5 separate regions of the Homo sapiens genome follow, and all the other regions are linked to region 3. The links are contacts of gene promoters, found by promoter capture Hi-C in blood cells and fetal thymus (Javierre and others, 2016). All regions are on one chromosome and are shown on one strand. The core of a region is centred on a gene start or on the middle of the fragment in contact, and the rest is flanking DNA. Distances in the headings are between cores, read along the strand shown. Region 1 overlaps NOD1 (nucleotide binding oligomerization domain containing 1). Region 2 overlaps ZNRF2 (zinc and ring finger 2). Region 3 holds the start of SCRN1 (secernin 1). Region 4 overlaps NOD1 (nucleotide binding oligomerization domain containing 1). Region 5 overlaps ZNRF2 (zinc and ring finger 2).

What was found. The method cuts DNA at HindIII sites, captures the fragments that hold promoters and counts their contacts. A CHiCAGO score of 5 or more calls a contact.
Region 1: a fragment that was not itself captured here is called in contact with the fragment with the promoter of SCRN1 in region 3 in 1 of 17 cell types (neutrophils); the score reaches 5.6 in neutrophils.
Region 2: a contact is called between a fragment that was not itself captured here and the fragment with the promoter of SCRN1 in region 3, in 1 of 17 cell types (total B cells). The highest score is 5.1, in total B cells.
Region 4: a contact is called between a fragment that was not itself captured here and the fragment with the promoter of SCRN1 in region 3, in 4 of 17 cell types (monocytes, total B cells, naive B cells and 1 more). The highest score is 9.3, in monocytes.
Region 5: a contact is called between a fragment that was not itself captured here and the fragment with the promoter of SCRN1 in region 3, in 1 of 17 cell types (total B cells). The highest score is 8.0, in total B cells.

Annotation. Positions count from the first base shown.
Region 1 is chr7:30,449,079-30,451,778 of GRCh38, forward strand. NOD1 (nucleotide binding oligomerization domain containing 1) reads right to left here. Exons shown (of 14, transcript NM_006092.4): 6 at 2,138-2,700. Among named protein-coding and RNA genes, the nearest start is that of NOD1, 28 kb to the right of the region's middle. RefSeq lists an enhancer at 448-948. The HindIII fragment of the contact is 1,217 bases long and covers 756-1,972 here.
Region 2 is chr7:30,309,086-30,311,785 of GRCh38, forward strand. All of the region lies in intron 1 of ZNRF2 (zinc and ring finger 2), which reads left to right. Among named protein-coding and RNA genes, the nearest start is that of MIR550B1, 21 kb to the left of the region's middle. The HindIII fragment of the contact is 2,465 bases long and covers 110-2,574 here.
Region 3 is chr7:29,988,527-29,991,226 of GRCh38, forward strand. It overlaps SCRN1 (secernin 1), which reads right to left and starts at 1,275. Exons shown (of 8, transcript NM_014766.5): 1 at 1,116-1,275. It overlaps FKBP14-AS1 (FKBP14 antisense RNA 1), which reads left to right and starts at 130. Exons shown (of 3, transcript NR_187577.1): 1 at 130-267. RefSeq lists silencers at 502-621, 712-981, 992-1,041, 1,062-1,401. The HindIII fragment of the contact is 11,019 bases long and covers 1-2,700 here.
Region 4 is chr7:30,430,781-30,433,480 of GRCh38, forward strand. NOD1 (nucleotide binding oligomerization domain containing 1) reads right to left here. Exons shown (of 14, transcript NM_006092.4): 12 at 2,316-2,399. Among named protein-coding and RNA genes, the nearest start is that of LINC01176, 41 kb to the left of the region's middle. The HindIII fragment of the contact is 3,695 bases long and covers 1-2,700 here.
Region 5 is chr7:30,363,715-30,366,414 of GRCh38, forward strand. It overlaps ZNRF2 (zinc and ring finger 2), which reads left to right. Exons shown (of 5, transcript NM_147128.4): 5 at 2,321-2,700. Among named protein-coding and RNA genes, the nearest start is that of LINC01176, 26 kb to the right of the region's middle. The HindIII fragment of the contact is 156 bases long and covers 1,275-1,430 here.

The DNA.
Region 1 (2,700 bases), core at 114-2,613, 460 kb after region 3:
AAATGGGTATGGCTGCGTTCCAATAAAACTTTACTTAGAAACACAAGCCTTGGGCCCAATTAGACCCACAAGCTGACCTTGATAACAAGTAAAAGGCTGAACAATTAAAAGCTTGATTTTTAGGCCACATCAAAATGATCAAGTCAGACACTCTGGACCCTTTCCCTCAGAGTCCCCAGCTTGGTGCTGGGAAATAGTGTGTATGTACATGGCATGGCCAGCCCAAGACAGCACAGGCTGCTAGACATTCCCAATATCTATACTTTCTTAGCAATAGATTCCCCCATCTTTTAGCTGGGCCCATCTCATTAAATTCTGCCCATACCATTAAGTTCTGAAATCTAAGCAGCAATATAATTAGTAATAGCCAAGAAGTGTTCTTAAAAGATTGAGGCATGCTCTCAATCTTTGCCCTTCCTTCTTACTGATAGCTAGAGTGTCGACTAGATGGCTGGAGTTTGAGCAGCCCTCTTGGGCCAAGATGGGAAAGCCGGGTAGTGAGGATGGCAGAACAGGAAGGCAGAAGAGAGCCTGGGCTCCGGAGGGTCATGGAGACTCCATACCAGTCCTGAACTACCTACCTCTAGACTTTTACATGAGAGAAATAAGCTTGTAACTCACCAACATTTGGGGTTTTCGCTCTCAGCTAAAACTAATCCTAACTGATGCAGCCAGAGAACTGAGTGTGCTTCCCGTGGTTACCCATATCCTCTGCTTTCCTACAAGCTGTTTTTTCTTGCACTGGTGTGAAGGAAAGCTTCACCTGGGGACAGCAGGAAGGGCAGGGCCACCACACTGGTGTGGAGTTTCCCATTGAAAAGATGGACAGAGGGGTCGGGTGCGGCGGCTCATGCCTGTAACCCCAACATTTTGGAAGGCCGAGGCGGGCGGATCACCTGAGGTCAGGATTTCAAGACCAGCCTGGCCAACATGGGGAAACCCCGTCCTACTAAAAATACAAAAAACTTAGCCGGACATGGTGGCGTGTGCCTGTAATCCCAGCTACTCAGGAGGCTGGGGCAAGAGAATCGCTTGAACCCAGGAGGCGGAGGTTGCAGTGAGCTGAGATCACGCCACTGCACTCCAGCCTGGGCAACAGAGCGGGACTCCATTTGGGGGAGAAAAAAAAAAGATGGACAGAGGGTGGCACTGAGTGTGAGACTGCCTGGGGCTACAGAGGGAGAGTCACTGGCTGAGAGTACAGAGAACAGACTCCAGGTTTTCCAATTCCCAGGCTAGGGCAGCCTTCGACCCCCTGCACCCCATGTCCCCATGCAATTATTTACACTCTGACACTGGTGTGACAGGCACTGGGAGTCAGTTCCAAATCCCTACTGCTTTTTAGAAATGCATGAGTCAAGTAATGGCAAATTTAACCCCCTGTAGAGATTTACAAGGTTTATTTTACATAGGAAATGCTAATAGAAGAAAACAGACTGGGCTCTGTTTCCCGTAAACTATGGAACAGGAAAACAACCACGAGTCAGCATTTTAACTGAGGTCTCTAGCAGTGTGAAGGGCTGCTAGCGTTGATCACAGAAAGTCACCAGTGCCAACTGGCACAAGGTCTGCTTTCTCTGCAGTAATAAAAGCTCCCATATTCCAGAAACTTTTTGAGGGCTATCTCGGAGCCTTACATTAATCTTAAAAGGAAGGTTCTTTATGCATTCTGGCACTGCTATGTCTGAGCTGTGTGACCTAAAGCAAGCTATTAACTTCTCTGTGCCTCTACTTCCTTATCTGCCAAAATAGAGACAATAACAGTACCTAAGTTACAGGGTTGTAAAGAGCATTCCATTAGGTAATATTTGTAATGCACTTCACCCATTCTCAACTAACATTGGTCCCTGTGGCCATAATTGATAGGATTATGAGCATCTTCTTTTTCCAGATGAGGGCGTGGAGGCTCTGAGAGTTAAGCACTTTGTTCAAGGGCACCCAGCTGTGGCTGATCCAGGTCCACCTGCCTCGAAGCTTTGCACCTTGACCTCTGCCCTGCTAAGAAAGAAAAGGTCTGGACATTCCAAGGGCCATGGTCATGAGTCCTGGGGGATCCTGGTCCATGATGCCATTCCCGATGCCCTCCGAGCCTGGCCCGCCCGGCCCACCTGTTGCTCCCCTTGCCTGGCAGCCTCACCTGAGAACAGTGAGGCGGCTGAAGCAGGGCTGCAGCTCCCGCACGCCGTAGTCGTTGAGATTGTTGTTGTCTAGGTCTAGGGCCAGCCGCTTGGGGAAGTGATGCAGGACGAAGGAGAGGGCGCTGCAGTCGGCCGAGCAGGCGTTGCAGTAGGTCAGCTTGAGGTAGTTGGCGCAGATGCCCCTGGCCGCCAGCTGCCCCACCTTCTGGCTCTGTGTCTCGTAGATGCAGCGCAGCATCCAGATGAACGTGGGCATGGCCTGCACCTGGTTGAAGCTTTCGACCTGAACGCGGGGCAGGCTCTTCAGGTAGCCCCGCAGGCTGGAAAACAGGTGTGCCCACAGGGCCTTGCGCTTTCTCCTCAGGGCTGCCGCGGGCACCAGATGCCGCAGGAGTTTCTGTTTGGCTTTGGACAACAGCCCGCACAGGAAGAGGTTGGTGAACTGGAAGTGATCCTTGTTCTTGAAGAGGTCTTCCCGCGCCGGACCACTGCCCTGCAGGCACTGGAACGGGAGGAAGGGAGGATAGCAGGACGTGGTCGCTGCCCCCGCAGGGGGCATCCA
Region 2 (2,700 bases), core at 92-2,591, 320 kb after region 3:
ATGATGACATTGTCTTTATTACTGAGGGCCTTTTTACTTTAAAAAGTTAGAATAGGCTTCGTATTAAAACATGTAAAAATTCTAAAATAATGGCAAAGCAGAGTATATAAGCTTTTATTTGGATATCATGAGTGGGACTTTGAACATTCTCTGAACTCTTCTAATGTATTTAGTCAAATAGTTATACTGAATATTTTCTGTTTCAACAATCAGAGTCAAATTTAGATTTCTTAAAGGGATTATTTAACCATTATTTAGGATAAGAATGTGTTTAGAGTGCTCAGAAATTTATCACTTCTCTGATAAAACTCAGCATGTATAATGATGATGTCCTAGTTAAAGACTGGAGTAGACAGCTAAAAGACACCCTGACTCTTTACTCTTAGAAGCAACTCTTTGAAAACCCAGACATACAAACTTTCACATCTGTCAACCTTTTGCTGTGGTATTGTGCAGAGTTCACTATCCTGAATCAGCACATGTCCGTCTAAACTTCCAATAGAATTAAGAGCATTGGAAGTCAGTGTTTATAGTGAATTAAGCAGTGAGTATTTTTTGAATGTGTGTACTATGTTTGGTAATTGTTGGATAAGAAGGAAAGTACAGGAAACTAACCTGTTATTAAGCAGTACAGAAAGGTACCCGGTAATTTTTGTTTTGCATTGTTGTGATTCAGTTAAATGCTAAATTTTGCTGATCAGGAAAGTATAGATATGTAGCATGTAATATATTTTAAAATGTTATGTAATTTATTAAAAATTTGTAAAAAGTTTTAGGGTATGGAAGATAAATGAGGCTGGAGTTGGAAGAAAACAAGATACATGGCTTTGTATATGAATAAAAAGTTGGTATTTGTTTATGTGTATTTTAAACCAGGGAGTGATCAGGTCTGGTTGGTGTTTTGAAGATAGCCTGTGACAACAGTTTGGGGAAGGGTGAGGTCAAGAGCAGATGCATAGAGAGGTTACTGCCATAGTCCAGGAAAAAATAACAGTAGCTACGTTGTGAGGGTGGTGTAGATGTCTAAAGAATTGGTTGAATCTGACAGATACTCAGGAGGTAAAATCTACCAGGTGGGTGATGGCTTGAGAATAAACAGGTGTGGCAGCAGGAAAACAGTGGTAACACTGGCCTGACTGGAACATCTTCATTATTCCTTAGCCCTTTGGTTAGACTAAACTTTTTAATGCAACTTACTGGCAGCTTACAGATGAGTTTTTGTCATAACGAAACTTTTTCAGAATGGTTTTCTTTCCTCTTTTGAAACAAATATTTGGATATTTTGAACAGTTCTTAAAGACTTAATCCAGGGGTTGGCAAATGTCTAGTAAAGGGCCAGATAGTAAATATTTCAGGCTTTGCAGATCTTTTGGTCTCTGTTCCCTCTTTTTGTAGTTTGGGTAAGCCATAGAGACAATACATAAATGAATGTGTGTGGCCACGTTCAATAAAAATTGGTTAGTGGGCACTGAAATTTGAATTTCCTATAATTTTCACATGCCATAGCATTTTCTTTTTTAAAAAATTTTTATTCAGCCATTAAAAAATGTAAAAAGTTCTTGACTCAAGGGCTGTACAAAAATTGACAGTAGGCCACAGTTGGCCTGCAGACCTATGTGGGGTAAACGCACCTGATAGCCATTTTCTTAAGCATACCTTGAGGATGACCCTGTGTGGCATACAGGACTGAATGTGAGTTCCAAGCTAGGGAATCTGAGAGTGGCTAATTAGGAGATTCGTTCCTTGTCTAAGGAGAAACATCTGAGCCCCTGTCCTGTCCTGTCCTGTCCTGTCCTGTCTTGTCCTGTCCTGTGGAACATGAGCTGTACAGGGGATCGAGGTCCCAAGTTTGGGGTTGAAAGAAGGTTGACAGGTGGAGGTTGTTAGTGGGAGGATGCTAACTGAAAATGCTTTATAAACTACATGCCTTTTCCAAGCTGTTGTGGTTCTTCTGTCCAGCCTGCCACCCCTTGACTGTGTGTAAGGTGATTCTTCTGACCAGTCTACTGCTGCGGTACTCTCTGCGCTGTATGTAAGCCTCCAGTAAAACCCCGTGTTTTGTTTGCTGGCTCTGGGTCTTGTTTTTGGCCTCTTGAACTTGGTGCCATTCCCCTTGGAGTCAATAGGGGTCCGGCACAAGAACCTGCACTTTACCAACCCCAGAATTTTACCCCGAGTGTAATTTCTTTACGAGTAACTTTTAAGATAGATAGTAAATAGGCTGTAGGATGTTAATTCCTTTCATTCCTAAAGAGTCATAAATGCTTAAGTCTGTAATGCTATATTTGATTCTTCCATATGTGAATTTGGGGGATGTAGAAACGAACTACCAGCAAACCCAATATAGCTAAGGAAGTATATAATGCAGAGTGAATTTCATGAAGAGCAGTATCTTTAAGAAGGTAACTAACACATACCAATGAAAAGTGGTTTCCATAGGTGAGCCCCAATGGGAAAGAAAGTTAATGACTTTTGTCAGACTAACTGCAGATGTGTTAAGAAAGTTGCGCTGGGTTCTAGGGTAGTTGTAGGAAACTTGGCTTAAATACTTAGGAGTTGGCATGCTACCTGCTAAGCTTGAAAATCCTTGTAGAACCAGCCCTTCAGTTCTGAATTAATTTTTGACATAATTCTTAAGGATTATATTATGTATGCGTTGTTTTAGAAAATACTGGTAACACTGAGTCCAATTATTTGAGT
Region 3 (2,700 bases), core at 25-2,524:
TGGTTGTGGTCTGTGCTGCTTCCGCCTGGCCTATTTTTCATGCTGCCATTTTGAATTAGCATAGGTTTCCTCCGCAACTGATGCATCTTCTAACCAGGCTGGGAACACAACACGCGCACACGCGCACACACACACGCACGCACCCACCCCACCCGGCTGCCGGACGCAAGCGTAAGTCAAGGACTTGCATGCTAGAATCAGACAGAAAATCCAGAAAAGCCACGTTATTTAACAGAACCCTACAAGGTCAGCTTTGAGTCAAAGCAGGTAACAGTTTCCTTCGATGTTTTCATGGACATTTTTATTCCCAAATCCGAGTTCTCGCCAATTCTCTAAAGTTCAAGCGCCCCTCCTGCTTTGCAGACCACATTTCTCTCGGCCCTCGCGAGTGAGGTCGCCAAATACTCGACGCCTCAAGAGCGAGCCGAGGAGGCAGAGGCCGACCAAGCCGGCCTCTCGGCAGCCCCGCCCGGCGCCCCGCGGAGAACGCCCGGGTGCGGCTCGAGGGAAGTTGTGTCAAGTCCCACGCGCGGCCCGCGGAGAACCCAGGGGCGGCCCGCGCGCGTCGGCCTAGCGGGGAGGGCTGCTCCGGGACACGGTGCGGCGGCCGCGGGCGAGTTGGACGCGCTGGCAGAGCCGGGCCGAAGGCGGCGGGCGTCTCCGGGCAGCCATGTTCGCGGCGCCCGCCCGCGCAGCAGGTACGGCACCTCGGGGAAGGTGCCCGGCTCGCCCCAGACCCCAGGGTGGCGAGGCCAGGGGCCCACAGGCACATCCCAGTGGGCAGCAGGTTGGCTGCCAGGAAAAGGAAACCCAGGAAGAGCAGCGCGGGGAACCCGGCTGCGGTGCGGGAGCCCGGGGCCGGCATCCCTCCACTGCACCCCCGCAGTCCCCGAGCCGAGTCACCCCGGCTTCAGGCCGAGGCCACCTCTCCTCTGACCGCCCCCAGGCTCCCAGCCCGCCCGGGCCAGCACCGGGAATCGGCCTGGGGTAACGCTACCCGCGGGTTCGGAGGGACAGCGGGAGGAGATGAAACGCAGGAGGTGGCGATGGCGGGTGGGGTGAAACCGCCGGGAAAGCAGCGCTGCAAACGCCCTGCGCTCCCAGACGCGGCTCACCTGGGGCGGCGGGCTCCGGGCTCCGCTCTCCGCTCTGCGGTGCTGAGGCTGCGGCCGCCGAGGGTGCGGGTGCTGCCGGGTCCGGATTACTGCGGCGACCTCGGGGGCTGCAGCTGCAGTGGCGGAGGCGGCCGCCGGGCGCTTCCCCCTACCCAGACTCCCGGCGCTGGGGCCCGCCGCCCCCCGCAGCAGCTGGCCCGACTCACGTGACCGCGGGCCCACCCTCCGCCTCCCCCACCCCGGCCCCCGGGGCCCCGCCGCACCCCGCGCGTCTGGCTGCACGGGCCGCGGCGCTGCTCACCGTCGAGTAGGGAGGGGGCCTGGGAGCTGGAGGAGCGGCCGAGAGGGCGTATCTCGCCGCAGAAAGTGGCCCCCTCTTTGCTAGATTTTTATTTCTTGGTTGTGGCTCTCAAAAGGGAAAACCCGGGCTTCAAGGAGCCAGGCCCAGCATCCTTTTGGCGCCTCTTCCCGACGTTTGGTTGCTACGTCCGGGCCTCGGCGCCCACACAAGATTTCCCCGGAGAGAAATGTGTCCTGTACCTTGTTGACTCGCACGTCCAAGTCGAGTCCCTGGTTTTAAAAGTGCCGTCCTGTACCATGTTGGTAAGCCAGACCCTGTCCCAGGTACTTGGACATTGTGGCCTAGAGAGGTTAAGTAACTTGCCCAAGGTCACACAGCACGTAACTAAGCCAAGATTCCATATCTGGGTTAATAAAGTTATGTACAGGGACTTGTGTGTTGTGTGTCTGTGTGTGTGTGTGTGTGTGTGTGTTGATGCCAGCGTCAACTCCATCTTTTATAAGTAAATAAGAAAAGACTATCTCAAAAGATATGAAGACGTAATTCAGAGGAAAATAAATGCAATTCTATCCTGGCACACGAAAAGATATTCAGGCTCACTTAACTGCAAATCAAATATGTGGGGTAGCATCTTCCACCAGCCAGATTAACAAAAATCAAAACATTTTGAGTCTTGCTTTGTCGCCCAGTCTGGAATGCAGTGGCAGGATCTCGGCTCACTGCAAACTCCGCCTCCTGCCTCCCGCCTCCCGCCTCCCGCCTCCCGGGTTCAAGCGATTCTCGTGCCTCAGCCTCCCAAGTGGCTGAGACTACAGACCCACGCCACCAGCCTCGCTAATTTTTTTTGATTTTTAGTAGAGATGGGGTTTCACCATGTTGCCCAGGCCGGTCTCAAACTCCTGAGCTTAGGCAATCCGCCTGCCTCTACTATCCAGCTTCCTTTAAAAAGGAGAATGATCTTTATTTGCTAATACAAAACTATTTCCAACCTATACTAACTAAAGAAAAATAAAAAGCTAGGTGCAGAACGTTGTGTGTGTTATTTGTGGGAAGAAAATATATATGTATGTCTGTACTTATTTTTGTAAATGCACAGAGTATCTTTGGAAGAGTACGTAAGAACCTGTAATAGATGCCACCAGGGAGCAGAACTGGGAGACTGGGTGCTGGGGAGAGAAGGAGACTTTTTTCCATGCCCTTTGAATGTTGAGCCTGTGCTTACAGTCTGACACATGAGTAAACGGATAGTGGGGAAGGGCTGAGGAAGTTGGTGTAGGTACTGCA
Region 4 (2,700 bases), core at 55-2,554, 440 kb after region 3:
TTGTCACTGTTACTGCCCAAGCACACAGGACCACTGGTGGCTGGGCTGCAGCCAGGATCTGGTGCTCCCAGCCATACCCCACAAGGGCTAGGGCCCCTGGGTTCAATGGCAGAGGTAATGACCTTCCCTTTCAAAAGGGACAAAAATAGAACCAGGAAGTGGGCACCAAGTTCTGTATTCAGTTACACTCTGCTGTTTTCTAGTCACCACTTAGGCTTTTTTGAAGGCAGGGAAGGCAGCCTCCAACCAAGATGTGGCAGGAGGCCAGGAAGGAGAGCACCTAATGCCCCTAAAAAGCCTGCAGTGTCCAGGCACATCCACCCACTCGGGCTGCCTTCACTAGGGCCAGTGCAGGTTGGGAATGCACAAAGCAGCCAAGACTCTCTTTCTGACCCTGTCCTAGCTCTGCTCTCCCTGGAGAGGCTGGCCTGCACTTAGGGAATGGGATCAAATAATTCTGCAGGCTAAAAAGGAAAGAAAAAACAATATGTAGCAGAGTCTAGTCTTTTTGCAGAAATTGACAAGGTGAGTCTGAATTCATAAGAAATGCAAAGAACCCAGAATGGTCTAAACAATCTTGAGAAAGAAGAACAAAGTAGAACTCACACCTCCTGATTTCAAAATGTACTACACAAAGCTACAGCAATGGTCCTGGCATAGGAGAGACATATAAATCAATGGACCAGAACAGAGAATTCAGAAATAAACCCATACATTTATGGTCAATTGATTTTTGACAAGGGTGTCAAGGCCATTCAATAGGAAAAGATAATCTGTTCAACACGTGGTGCTGCCGGGACAGCTGGATATCCACGTGCAAGAGAATGAGGTTAACCCTCACTTTACACTATACAAAAATTAACTCAAAATGGATTGCAGACCTATATGTGAGGGGAAACAACTATAACGCTTAACAGAAAACTTAGGTGGAGTTCTTTGTGATCTTGGATTAGGCAATCATTTCTTAGATAAGACACTGAAAGCACAAGCAACCAAAGAAAAAAATAGATAAATTGGACTTCATCAAAATTAAAAACTATTGGCCAGGTGCAGTGGCTTTTCGCCTGTAATCCCAGCACTTTGGGAGGCTGAGGCAGGTGGATCACCTGAGGTCAGGAGTTCAAGACCAGCCTGGGCCTAAATGGTGAAACCCCATCTCTATTAAAAATACAAAATGAGACAGGCATGGTGGCTGATGCCTGTAATCCCAACTACTCAGGAGGCTGAGGCAGAAGAATCGCTTGAACCCAGGAGGTGGAGGTTGCAGAGAGCTGAGATCATGCCACTGCACTCCTGTCTGGGTGACAAGAGCAAGACTCCATCTCAAAAAAAACAAAAATTAAAAACTGTTGTCCTTTAAAGGTCACTATCAAGAAAGAGGAAAAACTCCACAGAAAGAAAGAAAATACTTGCAAAACCTGTATCTAGTAAAGGTCTAGCACCCAGAATATATAGAGAACCCCTATAACTCAGCATTAGAAGACAAACCCAATTTTAAAATGGGCAAAGGATATGGAGACATTTCTCCAAAGAAGCTATACAGACTCCCAGTAGGCACATAAAAAGACATTCAACATTGTTGTCATCAGGGAAATGCAAATCAAAACCACAATATTACTTCACATCCACTAGTATAACTAGATTTTAAAAGATGGACAATAATAAGTGTTGGTGAGGATGTGGAGAAATTGGAATCCACATACATTGCTGGCGAGAATGTAAAATAGTACATCCACTTTAGAAAACAGTTTGGTGGCTCCTCAAAAAGTTACAGAATTGCCATATGACCCAGAAATTCTATTCCCAGGTATATTCCCAAAAGAGATGAAAACATATGTTCACCCAAAAGCATGAACAGGAGTGTTCACAGTAGCATTACGCATAATAGTCAAAAAGTAGAAACAACCCAAATGTCCCATCAACTGATTAATAAACTGCAAAATTTCCTTAGAGTGAATTATCATTTAGCCATAAAAAGGAATGAAACATGCTAGAACACAGAGACAAAAGGTCACATATTGCTTGATTCCATTTATATGAAATGCCCAGAGTAGGCAAATCCATAGAGACAGAAAGCGGATTAGTGGTTGCCAGGGTCTGGGGAGGAGGACAGGGAGTGACTGCTTAATGGATACCAGGGCTTTTTGGAGTGGGGAGGAGGAGTGAAAATGTTCTAGAATTAGGTGGTGATGGTTGCACTAAAAACCTCTGAATTGTATACTTTAAGAGAGTGAATTTTACAGTATGTAAATTTTATCTCAAAAAATACTTTTGAAAAGTAGCACAGTCTGAAATTGTAAGGCTCTCTGAGTTACCATAAATGCTTTAACGTCTGGTTGACTTTCAACATTTCTGCCAAACTCTCTGCCACTTCATCGTTGAGTTCATTTTGGGTCAGCCTAAGGAAAAAAAAGGAAGTATTTACTCAAGAGAGCCTACTTGGCAGACATTGTTTTAGAGTTCACAGGAGCGGGAGCTCAGCCCAAGGCTCTCCAGCTATGCAGATGATCACTTGCTGAGAACCCAGAAAACAGCCAGGCTCCAAGCCCAGCCTGTCAGCCCCACAGAAGGTCAATGGGACTCATTTTTAATGCAAATCCTGTACCTGGGCTCCTATTTCTTAGCCCAGCTACCTGTAGAGGAGCCCACCCTCCCTCCCCACCTTTGCTGAGCCCTCAGATTTCATGGAAGATGGGGGCC
Region 5 (2,700 bases), core at 103-2,602, 380 kb after region 3:
TTAGTGAATTGAATGCTGACCTCAATTGGGTATTTTCATAGGGCTTTTTTTTTTCACATTTCACAAGTGCATTAAATTGACATCATTTAGCTTTGAAAAAATAAAGGTTAACTTAATTGCTATCTTCAAATATATGAAAAGCTTTTATGAAAAGACTTGGAGAGATGATATAAAGCATTGGATTGTTATATCAAGGCAGAGCATTTTAGCTAATCCTAGAATTGTTTCAGGAGTGAGAGTCTCTTTGTTCAGGGACTCAAGACAGTAACAGCCGGCTTTTCTAGGAGGCTGAGACTGATGGCAAGGAACTAGACCAGATGACGTCCAGAGGTCTAGTCCTGTGTGGTACCATTTCCTTTTATTTCAATAACTTCTCTTAAATTTGAGAATAAAAGTGTTGAGGTAATAAACACCCTCAAGGAATTCTGTTGCTGTATTGGTGGAAGATGATTTAAGAGTAGCAGATTAGAATATTGACAGAGAAGATTTGAGATAATAGCAGCAATAGCACCTGAAATGAGAACTGCAGTTGAGTGTCATAAGACTACGCATGTGCATGTGAAATGTGGAAGCCTTGGTAGACTGCAGAGTACTAAAAGACTGCCAATTTTAACCTTTCCTGTGAACTTACTTAGATCATGCCTTGACACATTTAAAATATGAATTGAGGCTGAACACTAATTGCTTGAGATAAGGAGTTTGAGGCTGCAGTGAGCTATGAACACACCAGTGCACTCCTGCCTGGGTGACTTAGCAAGTCCCTGTCTAAATAAATAAATAAATAAAATGTGAATGGAAGTAAGAATGCTAGGTAAGAGAAGTATAGTGGTGGAGTGGTATTTTGAATATATGTGCACATATGTTTTTATTTCACCATAGAAAAGGTTTGGAATGCCTTCATTGTCACCTTATGTTTGAGACAAAACGAAACTGTGGCTAAAATTATAGAAGCATTTTAAGGGAAGTACTGAAACTGATGCTAACAAAATGAAATTTTTGTCTTAGTATTTTACATGCCAAAGTAATACATCTAAATCCTTCATCTATAGATAAAATTTGTCTTTTTAGTCTTTCTTAGTGCATTTTGGGCTGCTATAACAAAATACCTTAGATGAGTAATTTATACATGACAGAAATTTAGTGCTCACAGTTCTGGAAGCTGGGAAGTCTAAGATCAAGGTTCCAGCCAGTAGATCTGGTGTCTGATGAGGGCTCATTGCTCATTTATGGCACCTTCTGTGTGTCCTCACGTGGTGGGATAACAGACTCCCTCAAGCTTCTATAAGGATACTAACTGCATTCATGTGGTCAGAGCCCTCATCACCTAATCATGTCCCAAAGGCCCCACCTCTTAATACTATAGCACTGCAGATTAGGTTTTAACATAGCAATTTTGGGAGTACACAAACATTTAGACCATAGAGCTGATAAGCTTTTTTTTTTTTTTTTTTTTTTTTTGGTGAGGTGGAATTATATTGTATAAATTTTTTTTCTTTCATCAGCTAAATTTTTCCTTTAGTGTCACAGTGAGCTTATGGGATATGTGGAGCATACATCTCATCTCATAGCTGAAATGCATATGTCTGTTGGTCTTCAACAACATTTCCATTTTCTTATGTTACATATGAGTGTTATATTTGCTTATTTGTTTGTTTTCGAATATAGAACCTGAATTTGAAACTAGCCTACTACATGGGCAGGGTGAACTCTGTTAATCAGGTGTCTACAGAAATCTGAACCAATGGAGTCTGCTTCTGTGGGTCTTGAAGAGTCATTTTTAAGAGTTTATAGACATGGAATATCTTGACTTGTACATTTTTGCTTCTGTCCTGACTGTTCTTATTTATCAAGTGATAAATTCTTGTATACCTTTTAATAGTCCTAGATTAAAGGTATATGGGTTTGAGGAGGATTCAGTGTTGTTAAAACATTTTGTAAGGCACTGTGTAGCCATAAAGCTCAACGTTTCTGATATCCTTCAGCATAAGAATTTAATAATCAACCCAAAATAGAGAGACATGAATATTTGTGGTCTTGATTAGTTAGAAAATTGCTGTACTTATTTTGGGGTTTTTAGTTATTTGGGAGAAATATTTTAAATCTCCGTGTGTGTGCATTCTTTACTTGCGTGTAGTCCTTATTGTGAAAGGGGGATGACTTTGTTATGTATTTTTTGTGACTAAACTTTAATTGATCCTTCTGTTTCTTAATCTGTTCTTCTCCAGATCACTGATTTTATGAGTTTTCAGAATAGTAAGTAAGGGTATGAAGACTTACAGTAACTAAAGCAATGTTCATGGGGAAATCTATTTTTACACAGGTTTTCTTGTCTTGACAAGATGCTTGAAAAACCAAGAGGATATGAAAATCTGTCTCTGGAGAAACAAAGACGCAGGCATACTCAGCCAGAAATCTGAGTTTTGTGAGACTTGGTAATACAGAGATGGACAATCGTACTGGGGTAAAAAAACCCTGCTGAAGAGAGGACAGTGACCACAGAACTCAGTGTACCAAACATGCATACAAAGGACACACAGGGATTTTGAAAATGCTGCACATCCCTTAATAGTCATCTACATAGGTAATACTGATAAACATTTTGTATTCAGACGCCAAAGTTAACTGATTTAAAAGTTGATTTACTTTTTATTAAGTTCTCCAGAGCTGCACAACTAGTTATGTTTTGATTTGTTTTGTTTT